Regions from separate parts of the Homo sapiens genome. Here all the other regions are linked to region 3. Evidence: promoter capture Hi-C in 16 types of primary human blood cells and fetal thymus (Javierre and others, 2016). All regions are on one chromosome and are shown on one strand. Each heading gives the region's core, a stretch centred on a gene start or on the middle of the fragment in contact. The rest is flanking DNA. Distances are from core to core; before and after follow the strand shown. Region 1 has its middle 37 kb from the start of SAMD13. Region 2 overlaps PRKACB (protein kinase cAMP-activated catalytic subunit beta). Region 3 holds the start of DNASE2B (deoxyribonuclease 2 beta). Region 4 overlaps PRKACB (protein kinase cAMP-activated catalytic subunit beta). Region 5 holds the start of LOC124904206 (a long non-coding RNA gene). Region 6 overlaps PRKACB (protein kinase cAMP-activated catalytic subunit beta). Region 7 overlaps PRKACB (protein kinase cAMP-activated catalytic subunit beta).

The links. The method cuts DNA at HindIII sites, captures the fragments that hold promoters and counts their contacts. A CHiCAGO score of 5 or more calls a contact.
Region 1: a contact is called between a fragment that was not itself captured here and the fragment with the promoter of DNASE2B in region 3, in 2 of 17 cell types (M2 macrophages and M0 macrophages). The highest score is 5.9, in M2 macrophages.
Region 2: a fragment that was not itself captured here is called in contact with the fragment with the promoter of DNASE2B in region 3 in 4 of 17 cell types (M2 macrophages, M0 macrophages, M1 macrophages and 1 more); the score reaches 9.1 in M2 macrophages.
Region 4: a contact is called between a fragment that was not itself captured here and the fragment with the promoter of DNASE2B in region 3, in 5 of 17 cell types (M0 macrophages, M1 macrophages, M2 macrophages and 2 more). The highest score is 9.8, in M0 macrophages.
Region 5: a fragment that was not itself captured here is called in contact with the fragment with the promoter of DNASE2B in region 3 in 1 of 17 cell types (neutrophils); the score reaches 7.3 in neutrophils.
Region 6: a fragment that was not itself captured here is called in contact with the fragment with the promoter of DNASE2B in region 3 in 3 of 17 cell types (M0 macrophages, M2 macrophages and M1 macrophages); the score reaches 7.0 in M0 macrophages.
Region 7: a contact is called between a fragment that was not itself captured here and the fragment with the promoter of DNASE2B in region 3, in 9 of 17 cell types (M2 macrophages, M0 macrophages, M1 macrophages and 6 more). The highest score is 13.0, in M2 macrophages.

The regions. Positions count from the first base shown.
Region 1 is chr1:84,262,685-84,266,126 of GRCh38, reverse strand. No RefSeq gene overlaps it. Among named protein-coding and RNA genes, the nearest start is that of SAMD13, 37 kb to the left of the region's middle. The HindIII fragment of the contact is 2,870 bases long and covers 356-3,225 here.
Region 2 is chr1:84,203,519-84,207,339 of GRCh38, reverse strand. The region is part of intron 8 of PRKACB (protein kinase cAMP-activated catalytic subunit beta); the gene reads right to left. Among named protein-coding and RNA genes, the nearest start is that of PRKACB, 61 kb to the right of the region's middle. The HindIII fragment of the contact is 2,581 bases long and covers 827-3,407 here.
Region 3 is chr1:84,396,483-84,400,052 of GRCh38, reverse strand. DNASE2B (deoxyribonuclease 2 beta) reads right to left here and starts at 1,569. Exons shown (of 6, transcript NM_021233.3): 1 at 1,364-1,569. The coding sequence starts at 1,488. The HindIII fragment of the contact is 1,924 bases long and covers 782-2,705 here.
Region 4 is chr1:84,236,965-84,240,347 of GRCh38, reverse strand. PRKACB (protein kinase cAMP-activated catalytic subunit beta) reads right to left here. Exons shown (of 10, transcript NM_182948.4): 10 at 1,850-3,383. Among named protein-coding and RNA genes, the nearest start is that of SAMD13, 63 kb to the left of the region's middle. The HindIII fragment of the contact is 1,679 bases long and covers 1,108-2,786 here.
Region 5 is chr1:84,629,200-84,632,972 of GRCh38, reverse strand. It overlaps LINC01555 (long intergenic non-protein coding RNA 1555), which reads left to right. Exons shown (of 3, transcript NR_027379.1): 2 at 1,227-1,363; 3 at 2,086-3,773. LOC124904206 (a long non-coding RNA gene) reads right to left here and starts at 2,497. Exons shown (of 5, transcript XR_007066196.1): 1 at 2,339-2,497; 2 at 2,119-2,256; 3 at 1,561-1,642. The HindIII fragment of the contact is 7,254 bases long and covers 1-3,773 here.
Region 6 is chr1:84,164,976-84,168,670 of GRCh38, reverse strand. All of the region lies in intron 1 of PRKACB (protein kinase cAMP-activated catalytic subunit beta), which reads right to left. Among named protein-coding and RNA genes, the nearest start is that of PRKACB, 23 kb to the right of the region's middle. RefSeq lists a silencer at 1,616-1,665. The HindIII fragment of the contact is 3,536 bases long and covers 569-3,695 here.
Region 7 is chr1:84,184,297-84,188,155 of GRCh38, reverse strand. It overlaps PRKACB (protein kinase cAMP-activated catalytic subunit beta), which reads right to left. Exons shown (of 10, transcript NM_182948.4): 5 at 2,974-3,056. Among named protein-coding and RNA genes, the nearest start is that of PRKACB, 42 kb to the right of the region's middle. The HindIII fragment of the contact is 1,202 bases long and covers 1,176-2,377 here.

The sequences.
Region 1 (3,442 bases), core at 541-3,040, 130 kb after region 3:
GCAGCCACCTATCGTATGCTTTATAGAATTAGAGAAACTTTCCAGCATGGTTTGGGTGGAGTGATGGTTTATGATCTGATGTGTGAGAGATAGCAAATAGAAAGCAGGAACAAGGTCATGAATCCACATATGCAGTGGTGTGAAAAAAGGGTCAAATGCCCTCTTGCTGGTAAATATAGATGTCTACATATTGGCAATGTTTTCAGTGTTTTTCCTAAAACTCTCTTCTTGTTTTTGCTATTTCTGAAGAAATGTGAGGAAATGCTTTCATTCACTTAAAAAATTAGCAAATTGTTCATTTTCTTGTCACAGAAAAATGCCAGCATCTTGCATTAGCAAGATGGCTTTTGAAGCTTAAGATTGATGCAAAGGGAGTTTTACCGCAGCAGCATTTTTCACTAGAAGGGATAAAAGGGAGGGGAGAGATGAAAGATGTCGACAGATCCTGTCTTTTTTTTTAGGGAAGGTTCCCACAACAGCAGATAGACTGGTCTAGAAATAGCTACCCGTCATTACTATATATATATATATATATATATATATATATATATATATATATACACACCTCTATTTCTTAAAAAAGTTCCCATATCCGAGGTTCTACTGTGGAATTTAAGAGACGATAAAGGGAATAATAGTCATGCACGCTTCATAAATGGCTCCCAGATTATTCACTGTCCTAAAGAAGATGCAGGCTCTGGACTGCAGACTTCCTGTAGGTCAGAGTATGAAAGCACAGGGTCCCACTGAGGCAAGAGCAGCTTTACAGCTTCTCTGCAGTTGTCTAGAATTTCCCAGAGAAAGCAAAAGATGAGGCTAAATGTAGACTTTCACCTTGAAAAGCTGTAAAGGTAATAAAAACAGGGCATAGTGGGTTGGTTTGCAAGACTCCCACTTCACATTTTATGTGCGTTTCCAAGCAACAGAGCTTCCTAAAACTAGAGAAGTGAGGACGTGAGTGATGAGCACAGTAGGCTCAGCCACTGGCTGCACCAGATAACTTTGGACACAAGAGAACTCCTTGCTTCATCTCTGTCCATTGTGGAGTCAGCTCCATCCCTGACTCACTCCTCCTGCCCACCATCCTTCCTCCTCATCTCCACCCCACTATCCTCAGAGCCTTGGGAATCCCTGCACATATTAGCTGTCTAATCAGTACTCATTTTGTTTCTTTCTTTTATTTTTTTTAGACAGAGTCTCACTCTGTCGCCCAGGCTGGAGTGCAGTGGCGCGACCTCGCCTCACTTGAATCCAGGTTCAAGTGATTCTCCTCCCGAGTAGCTGGGATTACAAGCACGCACCACCATGCCCAGCTGTTTTTGTATTTTTAGTAGAGGCAGGGTTTCACCATGTTGGCCAGGCTGGTCTCGAACTCCTGACCTCGGGTGATCCACCCACCTCCGTCTCCCAAAGTGCTTTACAGGCGTGAGCCACCGCGCCTGGCCCAATCGGTACTCATTTTCTGGCTTTCACTGATATCTTTCTATGTTGATTTATCCAGGAACCATCTAATGTTTCCTTAGGTATTTGTTGATTAGGTAAATGAAGCAGCTCAGTATTTGGGGGAGTCCTAAGTTTGGGATGAGGCGTTATTCAACTTTTGGGACACAACTCTTCCTATTGCATGTATCCTGTGGGCCATAACAGAATTTCTGGTTCTGGCTTTACGTTTCAAGGCATTAGCACTTCATTAAAGTTAACTTAAAAAATGCATCGACTGAGTTTTCTTTCTCAACTAATTTTAACACATAATGTTTTTTATTTCTTTAACTTTTCCATTCAGTGAAATGCACATTAAATGAAAGAAATAAAATTATGAAACTTCTGTAGTCTAGGCTTATAATTAATAAGATGCTTAGGTGCCTGTCAATATACTTGTTTGTAGTAACATCACAAAAACATATTATACAACTTCCTGCAAATGGGCTAAGGATAGCAAAGACTGTGGAAAAACTGCCTAACTGGAAATGAATCTTCGTCGCAGGAGGCCCACAATAATAAAGTCAAATGATGAATATATGAAGATTTATATGACATGCCAGCACATTATTACCACATATTCTATTAATTAATAGTTAGCCATAAGAAATCAGCTCAGGGGTAGAAGGAAGTCAGTTTGTGGACAAATTCAGCCTTCAGTCTGAAATTCTTCCACTGCCATAATCACTGAAACCTTCAAGGTTCTGAATGGCCAGCACCTACTAAACGTTAGGATTAGCTCCTTAGCAAATATTGGTTTGACAAGACCTTCGGAATAATTTTCTATTTGCACAACTTGTCCAACTTTTCTGTAATTGTCTTTTTAATTCTACTATTTTTAACTTTGCTTGTGAAGAAGTCATTTTATGATATTAGTGAAATGGATATTGTCTGAGAGGTTTTCAGATAACTGAATTTCCTAAGTGTATTTCAGAGTGGAATCTGTGATGTGTCTGGAATTCGCCCCCTTGTTAGGGACATCTCTGGCCCAGGGAGAGGAAGCACCCCACACCCACGGATGGCAGGATACTCAGGCTGGTGCTCTGTGATTCTGAGGTCCACGTAGAAGCAGCCATAGGAACCCCAGCACCTCATTTGGACTCTACTTCCTCTAGTTTAACTCTTATCTTCTCCCTCCAATTTATCATTTCATTAGTTCTTCCCATTTAGTAACTCTATTCCAACTAATAGACTTCTTCCTTCTTCCTTATCCTTTTACCTTCTTCCATATCCCTTGCCTGTTTGTCTCCTATTCTTTTATCTGATGCTTCTTTCAGACACCGTTCTTGGTAACTGACGTGTCCTGCTTAGTCCAAGACCGCTCCTGCAATATGCCCCTGCGAGCACTGCTGCAGTGGGCTCCTGGCCCTGTTGCTGTGAGGCCCACCTCTGTGTTTCAGGGAGATCTCAGCCAGCTCCTGGGTTTCTTGCTCTGGTTGGAGGAATTTCTGGCTCTCCAGGTGACCTGGGTCCCAAGTGAGACATAGCATGTATGATAAGTGGAGTTCTACCTGAGCAGCGAGGCCCAAACAAAGCACCCCCATGGAGGAGGGTGTTCCCTGCTCAGAAAATATGAGGTCTTACCTGTCTATATCTGTGTGCTATACCTGTGATCCAGATGTTATGATGTACCGCATGGATGCAAGGATATACAGTGTGGTCCAGGTGTGCACCCGGCCAGTTACCAGTCCTCTGAGCCTTGTGGGGGAGCCCACATCCCCAGAAATAACATTGAAGTCTCAAGCTTTGTCATGTGTATTCCCCTTTACTGCACAGGTCTTTTCTTTTTCCTTTTTTTGGCAGAGTCTCACTCTGTCGCCCAGGCTGCAGTGCAGTGGCACGATCTCAGCTCACTGCAACCTCTGCCTCCCAGGTTCAAGTGATTCTCCTGCCTCAGCCTCCGGAGTAGCTGGGATTACAGGCGTGTGTCACAATACCTGGCTAATTTTTGTATTTTAGTAGA
Region 2 (3,821 bases), core at 868-3,367, 190 kb after region 3:
GTACTGCATCTGTGGGCTCTCTAATCTGTTCCCTTACCTATGCAGAAACAGTGGTAGATATAATGAGTCTACAAGGTTGCAGAGGATTATGATCCACCCCATTCTCCCTCCCCCTGCTCTCACATAAGAAGCCAGTTTTGCAATTATTTGCTCATAGGACCACAAGAGCTGTCAGAAAGAAGGTATTAATAAGAATTTTAAATAGCCACAGTGAAGTGTTTAAAACTGGCCCTGGGTTTTATGAAAAGAGTAAAACTGCTTTTGTGTTTTATGAAAATGATTTCTGAATACTTCTAAGTCTCTTTAACTATGGCCATAGCAAAATAGTAAATGACATTGTAATTTCCCCAAAAGCATTAACAATAGTATCTTAGAAAAAGTATAGTGGAATATCTGCATATGTGTATGTTATTTAGGAAACCGAATGTGTGTAGAAAAGACTTAACATAGTAGGCCTGAGACTGCTACCCTTAGAAAGAACTGCTTACAAGTTTGGCCCTTGAGAGATGTCTGGCAACTTGAATAGTACCAGTGCCCTTATACCAACATGAAACTTTCCCTAAAGGATTAGAGTGGCTCACTGTGCCTACACTGTTGGTACAAACAACATAGTTTATTCTGAACAACTACTTTTGTTCTGGGAGGCTGGGATTTTGGCATGTGCTAGGCAGAGGGTGCATATGTGACCAACCCCCAATGAAAACTTTGGGCATTGAGTATTTAATGAGTGTTGCTGGTAGATAAAATTTCACGCTTGTCACAGCTTGTTGCTGAAGGAATTATGTGCATCCCTTGTGAATGCCCTGGGAGAGGACTCTTGAAAGCTTGTGCCTGGTGTCTTCTGGACTTTTGCTATCTTCACTTTGTACCCTTTTGTTGTAATAAATCTTAGCCTCAAGTACCACTGTATGCTGAATCTTGTTGAGTCCTCCTGGTGAATCATCAAACCTGGAGACAGTCTTGGGGACTCCTGAGACAGAAAGGAATAGCAATTGGGCTGATAATCAATTACCCTTCATGTAAATATTGAATTTCCCTTCAGGAAAAATTAACCAACTCTTTGATCATTCAGTATATACTTATGTTTATACTTCTCTATGTTGCATGTCTCCTTATATATTGTTACTCATTAGGAGTGGAACAATATTTACATTAGATATGTTGAAGCTAAGAATTTTTTTAAATTACATAAGCCAAGGGCTCTAAAGTTATGGTTTCCATAGTAGCTGTTACTTGAGTACCTTATTTGCAAGTATAATTTTTGACTGCAATATAAACTTTCTATATTTCCATGGGTAACGCAGCCAGACAAAGGTGCTATAGAGACCATAACTGATTCTTGTCATGGAGTACATGACACTGAGACATGAAATTTAAAGACTACATACAGAAACTCAGCATATGTATTGTTAGGATGAGGCATAGTTAATGCAGGAATCATAAATCTTTTCTTTCAACTATGAATTTGTAGACTCAAACCTTAACATTGCATGAATAATGTGACATTTAAATACCACCTCCTCTGTTTTTTTAAAGGCAAAATATGTGTAGGAGAGAATCTAACAAGTTGATTGATCATCTTTGTGTGCATTTAAAAATACCAGCTTGAGTTAAAATATTGTAATAGAGAAAGTATTTTACAATCTAATATTCATATATATGTACTTTAGTGAATTTATCACTTAATTAATAAATTTAACTTTGATAAGTCATTGATACCTATAATCTTTATAACGTGACTTCAGAATGGTGGATATAATCAATATAAGATGCTGTTTCATAAAATAATATGCTTCTAAAATCAACAAAAACAATTCTGAATGAAAAGCATATTCTTAAATGATATATCATTAAAACCATTAAAAGTTCAAATGCAAATATAAATATAAGGATCCACAAATATAAGACCAAATTGGATTTTTAATAATTTGCACAATTTAAAAAATTTAAAAAACTAGTTAGTTTCCAATTTGGCTTTTAGCCACTAACCAGAGAGACAATAATATTTTTGCAATGTGAATAGAGACACATTCTAGTTTGAATTTGAGTTTTGAAACAGATGATTTATTGGGAAATGGTTAATACAATCTAACTTCACATAATACAGAGCCTTTTAATGGCAAAAATTCCACTTTCATGACTTCTACTTTAGATGAGTAAAGGGAGTAAGAGATGGGGATAATTTTATATCCCACATGGGGAGAGATAATCTGGTACTTTTAGTTAAAAAACAAAAGTACACCAAATATCCTGTCATATTTCTAAATAAATGAAGGGGAAAACAGAATATTGTGATATAATAAGGTTTTCTGGTGTCATTCTTCTAAGGTGCCCAGGATTTAGACTGTTATGATTTTAGAATATATGCTGATTATTAGATACAAAATTTTAAAGTTTGATATAAAATGAATATATATTCATAAACAGCTGAATATAAAATTTAACCAATAGAGAATGATTGGCAAATCGAGGCCAATGCATAAAAATGAAGACACATTAATTTTAACTAAAGCAGTTTTTCTTAATAAATGTAAATTTAGTTATGACAGTATCCTTGTTAGAAAATTGGATTTCTTATATGAATATAAATAAAAGTAATATAGTAAAGATTCAAGAACTTTATAATTACTGTCAATTAAATGATTTGAAACAATTATTATAACATTTACATTCTTAGTTTTTGTATTAGTAAAATATTCTTCTTCCATTTGTGATTTTAATGTATTTTGGTTCTCTCATCATTCTTCATATGACCTTTAGTCCTCTTGAGAGTCTACACTTCTCAAATTCTTCAAAAATAAATCACTGCCTTGTCTGTTAATTTTTCTCAAAGTTTTGTTTTGTTCATATCAAAAGTTCTGCTGGGAGAAAACAATTACAAAGATAAGAAGTCTGAAGCCAGAGATCTACAAATGTAAGAAGAACAGCAGTGATACTGATACTTGTTTAAATAAGTACTGCATTCTGCTTTTCTGTATTGCCTTTATCAGTGCACAGCATTCAACACCTAGCTAGGTTTATTTATCTGTAAGAGGTATTTATTTTTTTACCTTTGACATAGTTGGAGTATAAATTCTTTAGTCAGTCTCCTAATTTGTGAATACTGATAATAAATAAAACTTTCTACATAAAACGTGGCAAAATACAAGGGAAAATCTCATGACCCAGGTAGAGTGCATATGTACTATGAGATAGGGAACAATACTGTGCTGAAATGTATGTTCTAGGTGATTGGATAGACTAATTCTATTGGCAAATGTCTTGTTGCTACAGCCCAGCTGTGCAGCATCTATGATTTAAATTTGAGTGTTGGCAAAAAAAATAAATTACCACATTAGAGACATTCAGGGTACCTTGTGAATAGTTAACAATGGAAATTGTAAGTTGATAGATGCCAAGGGTAAGCTTTCACACTAAATGTAGAGCTTGAATATGGCTGAGATACAAAGAAATAAAGACCTTCCCTCTACTATCTCCTTCCGGCTTATCTCTGCCTAAGAAGGTCACAAAATACAAAGCAAACAAATAAAAAATAAAACAAAAAAACCTCAACTCTATAACATCTCAGGCTAATGTGATAAAGATTGATGCTCTATTTCCTGATCATATTCTAAATGGGACTATGTGGGAAAGAAAAGAAAAGACAAAGCAGTACCACATGTAGAAATAGAAAGAAGGGAAAATAAGCAAAATATCCCTTCCCATATATTTTGTCATTAATGTATAGAAGGTCTCCTTCTGGGAATGTTTAAAAGCCTATTCTTTCATTGCTGCATGGTAGGAAATTCAAGCTCATTTCTATTGAATTGACAATGGTCTTT
Region 3 (3,570 bases), core at 320-2,819:
CTACTGGCTGCAGCCCATCCATCACCAAGTCTTCTCAGCATGTCCTTCTTTCTATTTCCATGACCGCTTCTTTAACTCAGGTCTACACCTCTTCTCACCTGTAATGCTGCAAAAGTGCTCCTGGTCTCAGTGATTCTAGGCTGCTCCCCATCCATCCAGCCCTCATAGTACTGCCAATGGGTTTCCTAAAGTGCAAATCTGACCATTCACACCCCTGCGTGAAGTCCTCCAATAGCTCCCTTTCAATGTCAAGTTCAAACCTTGTAGCTCAGCACACAGACCCCTTGGCTGTCCCCACCTCTCTAACCTCACCTCCGGTCATCTTCCTGTATTCTCCTGAAGTTCCAGCAATACCAAACTACTTTGCAACTCCCAAATTTCCATGTTGCTTCTTGCCTCTCTACCTCCTCATTGCTCCTTCATTGGCCTGAGATGCTCTTGCACATCCCTTCTTTTTCCAGCTACTTCTTAATTGTTCTTAAAACTTAGCTCAAAAATTACATCCTTAGAGAAGTTTTCTGGGCTCTCTGTTCCCCAGTGTTCCACCTATGCCCTTACCACATAACTGTGAGGTCCTTGAGGGTAGGAACCATGTTTCGTTCATATTTATATTTTCAAAACTCCACACAGACCTCTGTTGAGCTCAGTAACTGAGGAAAGACTGACTACTGCCTTGAGTATATCTGTGTTCTGTAGCCTGAAGTTTACACAAAAAGCTTGACACCAACCATTATGGCAAACCTAAATATCCCAATTAAAGGGTGAAAAAGTAGTTAAAGCTTTAGGAGAACCCATGACTATAATGCAACACAGCATTTAATGTCTTTGACACTGTACAACAGGCCAGTGGCCTACGTACCAATCATGGCAACAGCTGCCTCTGCTTCCAAACAAACCGATGTTAGGCAAACAGTGCTGTGTGTGACCAGGTCCCCCTTCTCTTTCTCATAAGGAGCAGCACATGCTCCATTTTCAGAAAAAAATAATCTGCCTTCTTTACTCTGTCAGTCTTTCAAAGGATGTTGGAAGTGTTCTGTTAGGAAAAGCCATGATGTAATTAAAAGAAATTGCCAGCTCACAGAAGCTGTCAGCTCAATCCCACTTCTGTGGCTACCAGCCTTGCCCCGCTGAGAACAGTGAATCAGGCCCAAGAGGGGCTGCTCAGCTCTTTTTCAGGGGGAAACTCCGTCACTCAGAAGCCTACCCCTGCCTGGGAGTTTGGCCGATTTGCACACTTTAACTTCCTTTATTTGTAAAGGGAGGAAAGAGAATGGACATTCCCCTTAGGAACTTCGCAGTGAGCCAGGCCAACTCTGTACCGAGGCTGTTTGCATGCAGCAGTCCTTCCATTTCATTTACCTACCAGTCCACAGCTTTCCCTTCTTCATTTCTGCATGAAATTGTTGCTGCCCCCAGCACCCCAAAGAGGCCAAGGAAGAGCAAAGCAAAGGATGTTCTTAGCAGTCTTGCCATCATTTTCTGTTTCATTTATTTCATGCCACAGCAGGACACTTTCCCCATAGATTGTGGAGTCTGAGTTTCAAGGCGCTCTCAGGCTGTGCTGGCTCTGACGTTTGATTTGATTTACCTGTGCTGTTCGCTGTTCGGGGCATTTTCAGAGTGGGATGGATCCCATGTAATTGTGCGATTCTGTCACAACATGCCAGCGTGACTCTGGATGCCTTTGTGCTGAATTGTTGACTGGTTTGCAAAGTCATCAAAAAGTTCTGCAGAAAAATAGGGAAAGATAGTTCACTCTTTGGAGTGAACATTGTTGTATGAAATTCATTGGGCAGGGGGACTTCATTTTAATAAGTAGATGTTAAATATATTTCATGTCTTCTCCTGTTTGACTCAATGAATGAGAGCAAATGCAGGTGGTTCGTACATTAAACAGAAATGATAAAACCTTATGTCTTAGTAATAATTAGGATCTGTCACTTAATAATCTCTGTCTTAAGGAACCAGTTGCTAAGGGATACTTCAAAGGGTTGCTTCAAAGTAACAGTAAATTTAACTGTATTTTACCAAAGATGTTTACATATTCTCTCCATCTTCCTGGTTTTAGCCACTCAATGTGGTGCTTCAGGCTGCTATGCAATAGGTAAACATATTGATCACCCACTCTTCAGGTTAATAAAAAATGTTACAAACATCTATTTTGCCCAAACTATGCTTTCTCATTCTCGAAGCTGAATCTGAAGTAGAAAACCAAAATAAAATGGCCCACTACCATAACAACTATAAAAAGGTGAGACCAATTTCTTTGTGAATCAGGGAAGGAGTAGATAGACATATGAAAATAATTTCTTTAATGCATACTTTTGCATCAATTATTAAAGCTGCCATCATAATAAATAGCAGTTTACATCATGCCTGGAAATAATGCTGCCCCTAATCTGTCTCTCTGATAATCACAATGATAACTATAATAGTTCCAGATCAGAGGATCCAGACCAAACTGAACCCTTGTAAATCAGATTACCTCTGTGGTTGCACTAGAACTGTTCACAATTCTCAGGATTCATAGAAAAGGGGAAGGCTTGTGTCTCTATCCTAAGACAGAGTTTTGGGAGGAGGACTCTGTACCACCTGCCCAATTACCTGTGGTGCCTGCAAAAAAGGCAGAATTCTAGGACTTATTCCAAACCTGCTACATCAGAATTCTTCCAGTTGGGCTCAAGAATCTATATTTTTAATAAGCTTATTGGTGATGCTGGTGTACCCTAAAGTTTGAAACTCACTGCCCTGAGGCCAAGACTATGCTGTATTTGGTAGATTCACAGCTTTCTGCAGGTTAAATGAAGAAATATTTTTCTTACCCATTCCTCCATTGGTATTATTATTATTATTATTTTGAGATGAAGTTTTGCTCTTGTTGCCCAGGCTGGAGTGTACCCACCTCGGCCTGGGAATCCATCCACCTCGGCCTCCCAAAGTGCTGGGATTACAGGCATGAACCACTGTGCCTGTTCTCATTTTGTTTTATATATTTTCTTCCTGTGTTCAGAAAAAAGGATTTCAACAACCCCAACCTTTTTGTCAATTTTTAAAAGTTTTTTTAAAAATTATCAGCTGGACGCAGTGGCTTATGCCTGTAATCCCAAAACTTTGGGAGGCTAAGGCAGGAGGATTGCTTGAGCCTGGGAGTTCAAGACCAGCCGGGGCAACATAGCAAGAATGTATCTCTACAAACAATAAAAAAAAAATTAGTCGGGCATAGTGGCACATGCCTGTAGTCCCAGCTGTTCAGGAGGCTGAGGTGGGAGGATTGCTTGAGCCCAGGAAGTGGAGGCTGCAGTGAGCCATGATGGTACCACTGCACTTTTGCCTGGGTGACAGAGTGAGATTGTCTCAAATATATATATATATGTATGTATGTATGTATGTATGTATACTGAGAGAGAGAGAGAGAGAGAGAGAGAGAGAGAGAGAGAGAGAGAGAGAGATTACTCTTCTCTGTTAAAGTAAACACAGAGTCTTGCTGTGTCGCCCAGGCTGGAGTGCGGTGGTGCAATCTCAGCTCACTGCAACCTCCACCTCCCACGTTCAAGTGGTTCTCCCACCTCA
Region 4 (3,383 bases), core at 698-3,197, 160 kb after region 3:
GAAGGTGGAAGAGATGTGGAAATGGCTTCTTCCCTAGAGCCTACAGAAAGAAATGCATGCTTGCCAACACCCTGATTTTAACCCAGTGTGGCTTATTTTGGTTGTTAGAACTCCTGAACTGTAAGAAAATAAATTTATGTTGTTTTAAGCTACTAAGTTTGTGGAGACTTGTTAGAGCAGCAGTAGAAAACTAATACATTAAGGTCATCATTTGCTGTGAGCATTACTAACCTCTGATAATCAGGAGAGGAAGAACCAGCTGGGGTATTCTCATTAACCCTTTATTTGCACTCCCACTTTCCTTTTGGCCATTTCATTGTTAGTATCACCACTAAAAGATGAGCAGAGACTGTAAACTCAATGAATCTGGTGTGCTTAATTTTATGTTATATTAGCACTGCTTTGAGAGAAGGGCTATCCTTCCATGGGTAAGTCTGACCTGGAAGTAGTAGTGGTTTGAGTTACTCATGCCTTCCCTTACTCCCAGTATCTCAGTGGCTACTGTTTCCTACTTCCTGCTTGTATTCCAGGAAGAATAGAAACAAGATAGCAGGTGCACTGAGGTTTGTGACCACACTGATTTTTTTTTTTGCCTGTGGTAAATTCAGTTTTGCCCACGTATAAAGCATATGAAGGGAAATCAATGCAAGTCTTTCACCATGAGAATACTTAGCTCAGCGGGTGTATTATAGTTTGTTATGGCTGCCATGATGAAGTATCACAGACTGGGCAGCTTAAACAACTGAAATTTATTTTTCACAATTCTTGAGTCTAGAAGTCCCAAGTCAAGATGTTGGCAAAGTCAGCTTCTTTGGAGGCCTCTGTCCTTGCCCTATAGATGGTCATCTTCTTCCTATGTCTTTACGTGGTCCTCCCTTTGTCTGTGTGCTTCTTATGAGGACATCAGTCATCTTGGATGAAGTCTTCCCATATGACCTCATTTTACTTTAATTACCTCTTCAAAGGCCTTACCTCCTAAAACAATCACATGCTGAGGTACTAGTGGTTAGAATTTCAGTATGAATTTTGTTCACAGTTCACAATCCAGGTCATAACAACAGGCATAAAGGCTATTAAATAAGCATATGGAAAATCTTCAGGAAAGCTTAAATGAAAAGTACTTAACTTCACATCCAGTATTTGTGCACAAGAGAAAATTTACAGCTAAATAGATTTCAAATGATGATAGTTCTTCAGTAAAGACATACCTAGATTTTTGTAATTAGTTTTACAAGGAAATGAGAAAACTGCATTTATATTAAGCCCTGATAATGATAAAATGAAGCGAGCACTGGTATAAAAATAGTAAGCTCCATGTTATAAAATGCATAAATAGAAATGTTTGCAAGAACAATCATACAAAATGGCAAGCCATTAAAATAATTACCTAAAGAAATGATTATTTCTTGAGGTAAAAGACAACTATGGAAATACACACTAATTAACCTGTCTAAAATGAAAAGAGGTAATGTGAAGCTCAAAAACACTCCTGAAGAAAAAATTAGAAATTAATATTTCATTGTTACAATAGAAGGATGAGTGCTCTTGAAGAATCAAATCCTTTAAATATGAATATTTAGAACATTATGTTAGCAGTAATCTGAACCAATATGAGAAATGAGAAAGAAGTAGAAACACTTTTGAGAAACTATTAAATGAATCTAGCAGTTTCTTAGTAAACATCCAGTGTGAGTAGACTGGCGGATATATTCCTCCCCAATGTGCTCTGCTCCCACCACCCAGAAATCAACCCAAACACATAAAAACTAGGAATCTATAAGCATCTCTTGTATCAGCGGAAAATAAATCAGGAGATGAGGGCACCAAGTAGAATTCACGACTCAATCAATTGTCTTATCCATTGAAGGTACTTTAATTTTGCAGTTATTGATTAATTAAAAAACACAGTTGTTTTCAGCATTTCCTAGCTACAGTAGTGCATAGGAAATTCCATTCTAAACAAAGAAGTAATTAATGAAATAACAACACACCTTAACATTTTACATTGATAGGTTACAGTTTACAAGGTGCTTTCACATACATTATTTCATTTGATTCTTACAACAAGCAGAAAAAACAGTGGGAAAGATTTTTTTTTTCAGGCTTACAATGAGTATTTTCAGGCCAATGGGCAGTTAACACAAGAATATACCAAGAATGAGACAGCAATACCCATAAGCCACAATATCGTTTTTGGTAGGTTGACAGTTTGATTCAACTGGGTATTCAGCATCGGTGAGTGAGAAAGGAATTAGGACAGACACCAAGGCTCTTATGATATTCAAATAATTTTAAGAACACTGTCAGAGATAAGAAGAAAGATGCCCTAAAATATATTGCCTTATTGAGACTTACTTCAAAGCAATATACCCTTCAAAATATCAGATAAAAAGACAATCTTGTCATCGACTGTGAAAGTTAGGAGGAATCTTACAAACTGCCTAATCCAGTTCTTCCATTTTACAGACAAGAGAACTGAGGCTGAGATCATACTGATAGTTTTCCAGCCTGAAATTCAGATGTCTTGACTTTCAGTCTAGGGCTCCTTCTTACACAATGCCATCTCTTAATTATTTACTGAGCATAACATAATATCTTCTGTTTCAAATATGTAATTTTAGGTTAAATACTGATTTATGCTACTTACTTCTTATTCAAGTTTTTATCTTATTCTTGGCTAAATTGTGGCTGAAACTGGGAATGTTACATACTTTAAAAATATTCTAATTTAGTGTACTTGATTGGTCAGAAATTGACTCCCTTGACATATTTGCTCATGACAAGCTTGCTCACGGCCTTTAAATAGAGAGTAAAATGGAATGGCTGAATAGCCCTCAAAACCAACGTATGTCTAGGGATCATCTACCTAAGGTAGATTCTACAGCTGGGCACTAGTAATTTCATAGAAAAAAATATTTTTTAGAATTCATAGAAATCTTTTTGATTACTGAAAACTAAATTGTAATAATCAAATTGTCATCCCCATGACTTATTAAAATAATTTTACAATAATATACAACAAAGCTACCATAGAATTTGTAGTTTACATATAGAACACATTGGTCAGCATGTTCTTGGGTCTAAATGAAATACAAGAAAATTAAAATATTTTATACGAATGATGTTTTAAATTTATTAACATGACGATATGCCTTTGTTACACAAAACTTGCTAGAGCAGAGTATTTTATTTTTTTCTTGCACGTTTTAAATATAGATGGACCAGTGAAATCAATATCAGCATTTACATGACATTACCATGCAGAAACACTTGATAACCGAAAGACATATAGATTGGTAGAAAGAACATCTCAGACAGGTTTTTTTTATGTCTTCAAAGGTTTCACCAGGGTGTGGTACAGATGAAAAGAAGTGGTGTTAATG
Region 5 (3,773 bases), core at 799-3,298, 230 kb before region 3:
TGCTGTATGAGTTTATTTTTCTGCCTTAACTAAGGTCCCTGAGAAAAACAGAACCACGTTTTATGCTTTTGTAAATTTCCTCTTTCTCTCCAAGCTGAGCATGTGGTCCATCATGAGCCATCTGGGAAAATACACTTTTATACTGGGAACCTTTCTGACATATGCATGCTTTTCAGGAAATTGGGAAGTATATCCTAATTGAAAATTAGTTTCAGAGTTGAGATACATTGTAGGACTCAATATATTGCCCTTATTAGAAGGCAAATCTTTTACTGTCATACACATGACTAAGCTGGACCTCAGGAAGAATTCATTTCTGTTTTCTACATTTAATTGACATGAAGGTTTATTCATCCCTACCATTATTAATATCAAGAAAATGGACAGAGGCACTAGCATTATTTTAATCAGGTTAGTTCTAGATAATGGGTGAATTATCCTAGGAAGAGAAGAACTAAAACTGGCCCCTGGCAAACTCCTAATGATGAGTCTGTACTGCCATCATTGGTGGTGTCCCTCGGCAGCTCAAGGCCATGTTGGGTGAATGTGGGCCTGTGGGGAAGTCCTGTAGTGCTCCCTGGAGAGCCTGGGGAGAGACCACCAGCAGTACCCAGCTGTTTAGTAACCACGCTCTGATTGGTGTGTCTCATAATCGGTAGTGCTGGGCAGCTGTTATATCTAGAACAAGTTTCTGCTGGCGGCCGAAGTCCACTGTTTTTGACATTATGGTCCTTAGAGGACGGTGATAATGGTCATGTGTAACCTGCCAGAAAGTTAATTGTTCACAGCAGCTTGAGTGTAATATCTCCTGGTTATACTAGTATAAAAAGGCTTTCTGCAAGAAATGCAATATGAATTGGGCCTCCAAAATCTAGGTTTCTCTGTGCCTTTTTAAAATTAAAACTTTAAAAAAATGCCTGGAGCTAAAAAGAGAGAAAAAATAGAATTAACTCATTTATAGATTATTAAAAACCCAATATGCTCTACGACATAGAAAAGTAAGCATATATGTTCTTATTCAAAAATTTCATCAGATGTGTATTTCATCAGAATGATAGGGCAAAATTGATATTTAAGATCAGAAATACACCTGAAAGATCAGGACTCTGGTATCCACCTAAACCATGGTAGAACATATGTAAGGTTGAGAGAGAAAAATGTAGGTTGGGATGTTGAATGGACAGCTGTTGCTGGATTTGTATTGAATTGATGCTTCTTCGCTTCAGAAACAGCTCTTCTGGCATGATGGTGACCTGCCATGGAAAATGCTGGGTCCCAATGCCCAAGTGACTGTAGTTGTGGCTCAGCCAGGACCCGACCATTTAGATCACCTGTTGTTAGACACGCAACACTGTCAACATAGGTAAGTTTCCACTTTTTATGAGCCATGTTAAAAAAGGTAAAATTAAACAGGTGGAATTCATTTTAATAATAGGTTTTATCTAACCCAATCTATCTAAACTATTATCATTTCAAACTATAATCAATGTAAAATTACCAACTGATTTTACATTTTTTTCATACTCAATCTTTGAAATCCAGTGTATATTTTATACTTACAGCACATCTCAGTTCAGACCAGCCACATTTCAAGGCCTCAATAGCCGCAGGTACGTAGGCTTTCGTAATGGACTTCACAGCTCTACGAGTGGACCCAGAAAGAATATTTAAAGGGAAAACACTTTAGTTCCATTAAGCCAAAGCAACTTATTTTCTAGTAGTACTTATAGGAATATTTTTTTTGTTGTCATTAAATTCCATCCTCTTTTCCATGCTAAGGTTGCTATTATTAAGAAACTTAGTTTGGTGAAACAGACACTAAAATAGTTACCATGTGAGAAGTAGCATGTTAAAAAATGCTATGTGAACACAGAGAAGAAAGTCAAAGACCCCAAGATAAAATCAAAACTGTGTTTCCCTATAGCACAGTGATGTTGACTTAATTAACCATCTGTTTATCTCAATGCACCTATACCTTTTCTGGAGCTTTCATTTCCCCATAGCTCACTATATTCCTTTTCTATTGCAACATTAACAAGTTACCACAAACTTGGAGGCTTATAGTAACACATTATTATTTCACAGTTCCTGTGGGTCAGCAGCCTGTACACAGCTTACCTGGGTCCCCTGCTTGGGGGGATCTCACAAGGCTTCAATCAAGATGTCAGCCCAGGCTGTGGTCTCCACTGAGGCTCCGTGGGAAAGACCCTGCTTCCAAGCTCACCTAGGTTGTTTGCAAAATTCGGTTCTTTGCAGCTGTAGAATGGAGGGCTTCAGTTTATTTCTAGCTATGCTGTGGGGCGGGGTGGGGGAGCTGCCCTCAGATCCTAGAGGTCACCTGCAATTCCTTGCCACTTGACTATGTCCACAGAGGTGGTCCATGCATTTCTGCTTCCTTTGCCAAAGCCAGCAACAAGAGACTCCAACAAGACACATCCTACCATCTCATGTATGCAATCCCGTGCAGGCAATCATGGACATGTCCATCACATACATAACCACGTCCATTCCATCACCTTTGCTGTATTCTATTGGCCCACTCAAAGGGTGTGGACTAATTAGGGAGCGAGAATCAGCCCTCTTAAGTCAGCCCTCTCTATTTCATGTGCCAACTCTCTAGAATATTGATCCTTTTGGTATTTTAAGTCATATCTATTGTCACTGGAAATCCTTTTTGAAGTAGAAAGGACAGAGCTCACAAAATACAAACCGCGCCACTATTCCTGCCTGTCATTTAGAGTTTTGCCAGGGGAGCAGGTTGATTTCAGTCTTTTCATGGAGTTTACTGTTTGATATGATGATATCTTTACCCCCATAATTAATTTTATTTTTAGTTTTGAGACATGGTCTCATTCTGTCACTCAAGCTGTAGTGCAGTGGTGCCATCTTGGCTCACTGCAACCTCAACCAGCCCAGGTTCAAGAGATCCTCCCACCTCAGCTTCCTGGGACCACCCCAGTGGGATCACTGGCGCAAACCACTATGCCCAACTAATTTTTAAAAATTCTTTGTAGAGAGGGGGTTTCACTATGTTGCTCAAGCTGGTCTCAAGCTCCTGGGCTCAAGCAATCTGCTTGCCTTGGGCTCCTTTGGGATCCCACAAAGTGCTGGGATTACAGGTGTGAGCCACCACACCTGCCCCCGCCCCATAATTAATTTTAAGTTAATCTCCACATTTCATTATCTTGGGCTAGATTTCGGGGGAGGGGCCTAATTTAGCTGGCATGTGCCCCATTGGGTGAATCGAATAAAAGCATAGCTGCCCTGGCATGGATCTGTGAACAAAAGTTCTCTGAAAAGAAATTTGGAAGAAAGACTTCATTCAGGAACAGTTCACAAACTTTCTGTGTAAACCAGTTACTTTCCAGAGAACAAAGGGAGGATCCTGGTTTTATAGTAAAAGTTCATGCTCAGGTTGCCAATCAGGTCCATTTTATGAAAATGAAGGCTTTAAATTTGCTTAGTTCTGTTTGGTTGATGCAGCTGCATTCTGATTAGTGGTTAGAACTGAGCCCTAATTGGTTCTTTCAGATGAGCTCTGATTGGCTGCTTTAGGTGAGCTCTGAAAGCCCCACTGTTAAACTGAGGTTGGGGGTTTCCAGGGAAACTCCGAGTATATGAGTTCTAGTCAGCAAATGGCCTGGCCACTTGGCTCTCTTTAAAATTTTGGCCCAGTTAGGTACTTGGGATCCATCTTGAAGGATTGGCTCTTGAAGGATTTGTTCTGAGAACACTTGTGAACTTGAGAGGCCCAGTAAGGCAGAGTGAAAACC
Region 6 (3,695 bases), core at 1,087-3,586, 230 kb after region 3:
TTGGAGTCTGATCATCAAAATCCTGTACATATTTGGGCAAATAACCATCTTTAATTTCAGAAATGATGTACTGCTTTCCCAATTTTTTTTCTCACAGTATTTTCAGTCAGAATCTAGAAAGGGAAATTAATGAAGTGTTGGTATTCAAGTCTGTATGGTGCTGTAATTCATAGCAGATTCATGCCTTCTTCTTCAGAGATTTGCCCTCAACTACAGCTGGGCCAGGATTCTCACCCAGGATTTTGATATAATGATGCTAGTTACATCAAAAAGCACATGAACTAGGAGAGCACATAAACTTTGAAGCTTTCAGATGACTAAGCTCCATTTTGCACAAGCATCAGAGAAACCTATTCGCTACACAGTGAGGATAATAAAGCAAATACAAGGAAAAAAGTAAAGACGTCATGTGATCTCAGAGAGAAAAACTGAGAAAGGTACTGTTATGATTCCAGTCAGCTTTCCAAATCAATTCTACTCTTTGGAACAGCTCAACTCTACTTTTGCCTTTGAGCTCCATGACATCCTCTGCATCCCAATAATACCTGTATCTTCTTCTGCTTAAGCTTATTTGAGTGAGTTGCTACAACCTCTAAACATAAGGGCCTTACAATAGTTTGACTGATTTTCAGAGAAGTTCCTTTAGTATTTCTTTATAGACCTTGTTTGCTTAACAAGGGCAAAAACTTCACAAAAAGAGTTATGAGTAAGAAAAACATTTAGAAAGTGAAGGCTCTTTTCACATATAACCAATTTTTTAAATACTAGAAAGATAAAGGTACTGACTGGTACAATTTAGTTTCTTAAGCATTTTATATGACTTCATCCTACAAAGTTGATAAAGGAACAAGTAAATACTATGGTTATTGTATTTTTCTGAACCAAAAAAAGTCAAAACCCACACTGGTATTTTTCACTGGCAATGTAAGGGAACTGTTCAAGTATGTAAAAATGAATTATATTTAGTTTATCATTAATTCTATAAGTATTTATTGGGTACCTTGCTGTGTTTGGGGTACTGGGGTGACTACTAGAAACATACAATGAATAAGGCACTGTCCTTGACTTGAGTTCAACATTTAGAGATTAGAAAGTGACATACAAATTTATAATTTCAATATAATACAATAATTGTTGTAGTTTGTAAGTTTGCTTTGGGAGTACAGAGAAATCACCTAATTCCACAGGGTCAGTGTCGGAGGTAATGACTGGTTCTCTAAATTTTTATGATAAAGACTATAAATATGGAAAGGTAGCAAGGAATTATATGTAATATAGTATGGCTAGATCAAAATTTGTGAGAGAGATTTTGCAAACAAAACCAAAAAGGTAAGTCATTGATTGCATGTGACCTAATAAGGAGTTTAACTTTTATTTTAAAGGCAATAGGGAGTAACTGAAAGTTTTCATGTTAGTTTAAAAAATGGGCATATTTGCATTTTAAAATTTTCAGTGTGGAAAATGGCCTGGAAGGATATAAAACTGGAAGCTGGGAGACCAGTAATGCAGTTATTATAATAGGATTGAGAAGAGATCTAGAAGCCATCCCAGTGTCAGTAAGACTGGAGAATATTGAGTGATTTTTGATGTAGAATCAATAGAACTTAATGACTGAGTACATGTCTGAGGGTAAGAAACAAGTTAGAAATGACCAAGGTTTCTGTTTTCACTTCCTGTATGGGCAGTGAGATCATTAACAGATATCAGAGTCAATGAAAATGGAGCAGATTTAGGGATGATAAAAGAAAATCCACTTTTGAACTGAACGTTCAGGTAATGACTGAAGATGTAGGCATGGATGAGATTTTTTGGAGAAAATGTAGCATCAAAAGAAGGCCAAAAGATAGATTCTCAGAGAAAACCAACATTTAATTGGCAAAGGATAAAAGGAATAGTCTTATAACGAGAAAAGTACCATGTACACATAAATATCACATGTGTAGTTACAGACTTAGATTAAAAGGCCTAGCATTTGCTTATTTTTACAAATAAAACCACACTTCTCTTGTAATTTTCCAAGTTGAAATGGCTAGGACACTTAACCATTTATGACATGATTAAAATCAGTTGAAATTGGGCATTCTCGACAAAGTCAGAACACCTAGTTGTGATTACTATGATTATTTGTGGTATAAAATGGCTAGAAGGGAAAGCCAATATGATCAAATATATCAAATGCTATCTACAATGCATAGCTTTTTAAAGAAAAATAAAGCAATAGTGAAGCAATAACATTTTCCTTCAGCTAAATCCAATCCATCCTGTTGTAAAACCTCCAGAACACCATGGTGGTTACCTAAAGATTCTAGATTATATGCCAAATTTTCAAAGAGAAAATATGCATTGGCCTGATTCAAATAAATATATGTATGACAACCAGGTATATTCAGTTTGATATCCATAGAAATCCTAAGGAATGTTAAGTTGTTTTTGTAATATTCGTTCAAATTTAAAACAGCAGATTATTTAAAACAGATCTATTTCAGTAACAGGAAAATAACAATCCAGTTAATTCTTAGTATTTTGCATGTTAAAATGTCCCTTTAATATCTAATATTATTCTATAAACAAATATATAACAGTGTTTAAGAGGTTTATATTGTACTGTAGCAGGATAAAGAATATTTATTGGTTATAATGAGGTGATCTCCAGTTATGAAAGAAAAGGTTCGTCAATTTTGAATTCTATCATTATACAGCAAAAATCCACCTTTCAGTTTCTAAATTCCAATTCCAAATCTTATAAATGCAAATTATAGGACTGTTATGTTATCAGAGAAACCATATTCTACTTCTCTTAAAAATATCTGAATCAAAGGTTAACTTCCAAGCATCTTATTTAAGCAAAAGATGCTAATGAATTATGCTCTAAGCAAATGTTTTTCACTCTAACAACAGGATATCTATTTTTAGCTGCAGGTTTGGCTTGAAGTGACAGCTTTTACCCTATGATAAACTGCAGTACATACTGTAGTATATTTTTTCAAAAAAACAGTTTTGGAAATATTTAGAAAAAATAAATCACATTATAACAAAAAAGACTAGTTGTCACAAGTGTACTTATTCTAAAAAATTATTTCCCCCAAAAACTGTTTATTAAAAATTTTAACAAACCCTACAAAACCAAAATGCTCTAATTATTTCATCATTAAATCCTTATTTCTCAATAAATTGTAGGTAAAAGCAACCAAGACATCAACAAAATTCTGGCAGCATCTTATTTTCAAAATTACTATTTAAAAAATCTAATAAAAATAATCTAATAAAAATTAGCATTAGGAATGACAAAGCTAATCAAAGGAAAGTTAAACTAATTATCTTCAGGATCAGATACTAAAAGAAAATCCTCTCTTATGGTTAGTCTACTTACTAATTTATAACACAATTAATAACAGTGCCCAACAAATACAATAAATCGAACCATAAAGAAAATTAGAAACTGATTATTGGTATTGATTATTAATAGTGCCATTAATTGTTTACAGTTCTTACTGGTTTTTGAAGGCAATTTACTATAATGCCTAAGTACAAAAGCGTCACCACAAAATATAATTCACAGTAGCTGTGGCTTTATAACTGTCCCTTTAAAAATATTTTTTCCTCTTATAAATATATTTTTTAAATAAACAGCTGCAGAGTCTCAGAGAGCATACTTACCACTCATGATGAAAACCAACCTTTCCAAAACATATTGC
Region 7 (3,859 bases), core at 527-3,026, 210 kb after region 3:
TATAATTTATAGCAATTTGGTAAAGTATATTTTTGTAAAAAAAGATAAAAGCATTTGCTTTTTTTCTCCTTAATTCAAAAATTAGTTGTAAGTACTTTTATGGGAATATGACTATTTGCACAGGTCCAGTAAAAATCTGCTCTCTCTTTATAGCAGAATATGAAAACACTGATTATATTACTAAGGCTCTAACTGAACTATCGTATTTAAAAAGTGCATAAAATGCCTGACTTCAAGGGTTTCTCAGCATTACAATGAGTAAATAAAAACTGTTACTTCCTGGCAGGACCAGGAACCTCAAGACTGTAAGGAAAATCTAAGACTGCCTTGGTTCGGCTTCCTTGCCTCAAGAGGTTTTTAAATCCAAGATTCCTATGTAATCAATGTAGAGAAAAAAGTTTTTTCTAAAGAATAACTATAATATACCTGTTATTAGACTGTAAGTCTGTACATTATTTTTGAGTCTTGTTATCTACCTATAGACTAGACAAGGTCCTAAATTCTTCTAGGTTCCTCCAATCGAACTTTCTTCCATAAAATTACTAAAATGAGAACCGCTCTGTTCCTGAAGTCCTGTTAGCTGAAACTATATAAATTTTAAGAAACAAGTCTCATGCCTGATGTATGGGCCACACAGAAAGTTCATCAAACTGCCCAAAGCCATAGCCAGAGACATTTACACTGTAAACAAAGCCAAGAAAGTTGATGTTTTCCATGGTGTGAACAGCTTTTCTCAAAACACTAGAACAAGACTCCATATTGTAATGAAACTCTTACCCCTCTTAATGCCTGCTTTTTCACTTAACCAAATAATATTGTAATTTAAAATTCACAATCAGTAACTGCTATAGGTACTGGTGAGACCTGCTAAAGCCATTGACAAAGCCTGACTTAAGAAATTCTTTCAGTTCATCTAGTCACAACATCGACAATATCCTTAACACAATTTTTTGTTTAATTTGTGCTGGTGGTCCCTCTTGCAAAGTTTGGCATTCTCTGCTTTAGTTCAACCCAGTCATAAAATGTTAGTCAATGGCTATAGCAGGTCTCACCAGTTTCCCCTGGTCCTTTGATTTCTTTAGTTTTTTGCCCTTAGGCCTGGGCTTTAGTTCAAAAGCACTGCACAAATACATTTTACTATATTGTTAATTTTTTTGTACTATCATTTGTAAGCTTTGTTCTTAGTGCCTATCTAATCTTTGTAAAGGCAGCTGTCCCAACAGAATAACGTTAGCCCAACACTTAAAGATGACTGCTAATACCTATGGAAGTGATAAGTGGGAACTCGATGCTGGCTGGACTCCAGACAAAAATCTACTTTGAGAAAAATTTTCCTTCTGGCCTCCTCGTTACTTGAATGTGGCCCAGGTCCCTACATAGACACCCCCCAACAGATAACTTCTCTCATATGTGGGACAGAGACAACCAGAACAAGTCCATCCGAGCACCAAGGAATAATTAAGCCTAACTTCAAGATGGTTGACAAGCAATGCTTTCAGAGAAAGATCTTGATCAAAAGGGAAAAATGTGAAAGCTGATTATACAAATTAGTCATTCTCATCATACCTAACTAAATCAGAGTCGAGGGGCCAGGGAATAACGCACTCAGGGCACACAGCACCTGCTCCAAGAATTAAGGCCAGGTGTGGTAGCTCACACCTGTAATCCCAGCACTTTGGGAGGCCAAGGAGGGTGGATCACTTGAGATCAGGAGTTCGAGACCAGCCTGGCCAACACGGTGAAAACCTGTGTCTACCAAAAATAGAAAAATTAGCCGGATGTGGTGGCGGACACCTCTAGTCCCAGCTACTCGGGTGGCTGAGGCAAGAGAATCACTGGAACCCAGGAGGCAGAGGTTGCAGTAAGTCGAAATGGTGCCGCTGTACTCCAGCCTGGGCAACAGAGGGAGACTCAGTCTCAAAAAAAAAACCAAAAACAAACAAAAAAATTATATTTTCCACAAGTCTAGTTGCTGAAACTGCCTATTGTAACCTGAAACCAGTTTTCTCTAACAGCTACTGAGACAACCTACTGCGACTCTTAGACGAGTCTGACCCACCACCATCACTCACCAATCAGAGCTTGCCAGCTCCCCAAAACTTAACTAGTGCTAGTAAACTTTGTTTCAAAACAAATAAACATAAAATTTCTTTTTATAAAACCTCCAACCTTTTCTTTGTTTTCTAGACACATTGAAGACCACCTAGTCTGTGTATATGCCTCAAACTGCAATTCTTGCTTCCTCAATAAAATGTTGAATTTAGAGATTTGTCTCTACATTTTTATTTTGACTTCAACACACTATACTGAATGAAGCTGTACCTGTTTTTTATTTTAGCTTTATTCTATTAGTGATTATTAATGAACGGTAGAAGCTTATAAACTATTAAGTACAGGTAAAACCATCAGATTCTATAACCTATTTTAATAACTCTGAGATCTTATTAGTCATAACCTGATGAGGTACAAACTCCCGTTAAATTATGTGTATATTTTAAAAACTAAACTTAGCAAGAACTTTAAGGAGAATTAAATTTGTGAAAAACAAACTTTTATAATCTTATTACCATAATACTATTATTATTATTTCTCTATATATTTATTTTCCATCTTCATCCTTAAAACAATCCTCTGTCCTGGAGTTGTATTATTAATCTTTGTTTAATAAATATTGATATTTTAAAATTCAATTAATTTTTCCATTTTCTGAAAACTCTTCAAGTAGTGGACCCTCACAATATCTAGCAGTAGTATAACATTTAAATTGGCTTCAAAGTCCTTTTTTTATATTAAATTTTTATATTCTTTATATTAAAACTTGTGTATGATGTGGCCTCTTTGTTTCCACCTAATGCTTCATATGGCCAAAATATTAATCAAACAAAATAAGTTTTTGGCATTGGCATCAACTTAAAAATCTGGTTAAACAACACAAGCATATAAAGATTTGAAGAAAGCAAAACCATTAGTTACCTGAACCTTCCAATTCTTCTTAGATGTGAAAACATTTCACCCCCAGGGACATATTCCATAACCATGTATAAATTAGAATTATCCTATGAACAAATAAAAAGGAAATACAATTATTCAACTTAGGTCAAAATTATTTTAATATTATATAATGCTGAATTAGAAAAATTTAAAATCTCTCTGACAGATTAATAACCTTGAGAAATAAAGAATAAATGGAACATGCTCTAGCTTTTCTATACAGAGACACTCATATTTTTCCCCTCCTAGTTATTTTTGCCACAAACTAGTCTGGGACTTTTGCTCTTCCTTTTCTTGCAGAGAACATCTAGTTCTCAAACAATTAAATACTCAGGCAATGAAGTAACGTTATAATATATGCAAAAGAATAACAAAGGTAAAAAACAATTTAAAAAGTTAATAAGAATATTTACATTTTATGTATAAAAGATTAATGGTTTTAATATTTTAAATACATAGGTCTTCATTTAATTTAAAGAATAAAGGAGAAAAAAGATTAAAATGTTTCATATGATTCAATATTGCAGAGAGATGCCAGTATCATTCCAAAGAGCTCAAAAGTGACCAATTTAAATAATAAATGTGGTACAATTTTTCAGACATTTGAATAGTGGAACAAAAATTTTGCTTTGTATAAGTGAAAAGACTAGAACTCAAATTACTAAGTAAAAGAAGATGAGATAGTGGCAAAAAGGGCTTAATCAAAGTAGAAAATGTGTTGGGTGTATGAATTTGCATAAGAATTGTTATTAAGATATCCCTATGGTTTTTGATAAATTGAAATATTTCTTTTTGTAATACCATCTCATGAGTATCACCTTTGAACAATTTCCCCAGGGAGAATCAAAACCTTTTCAAACGTTACCTA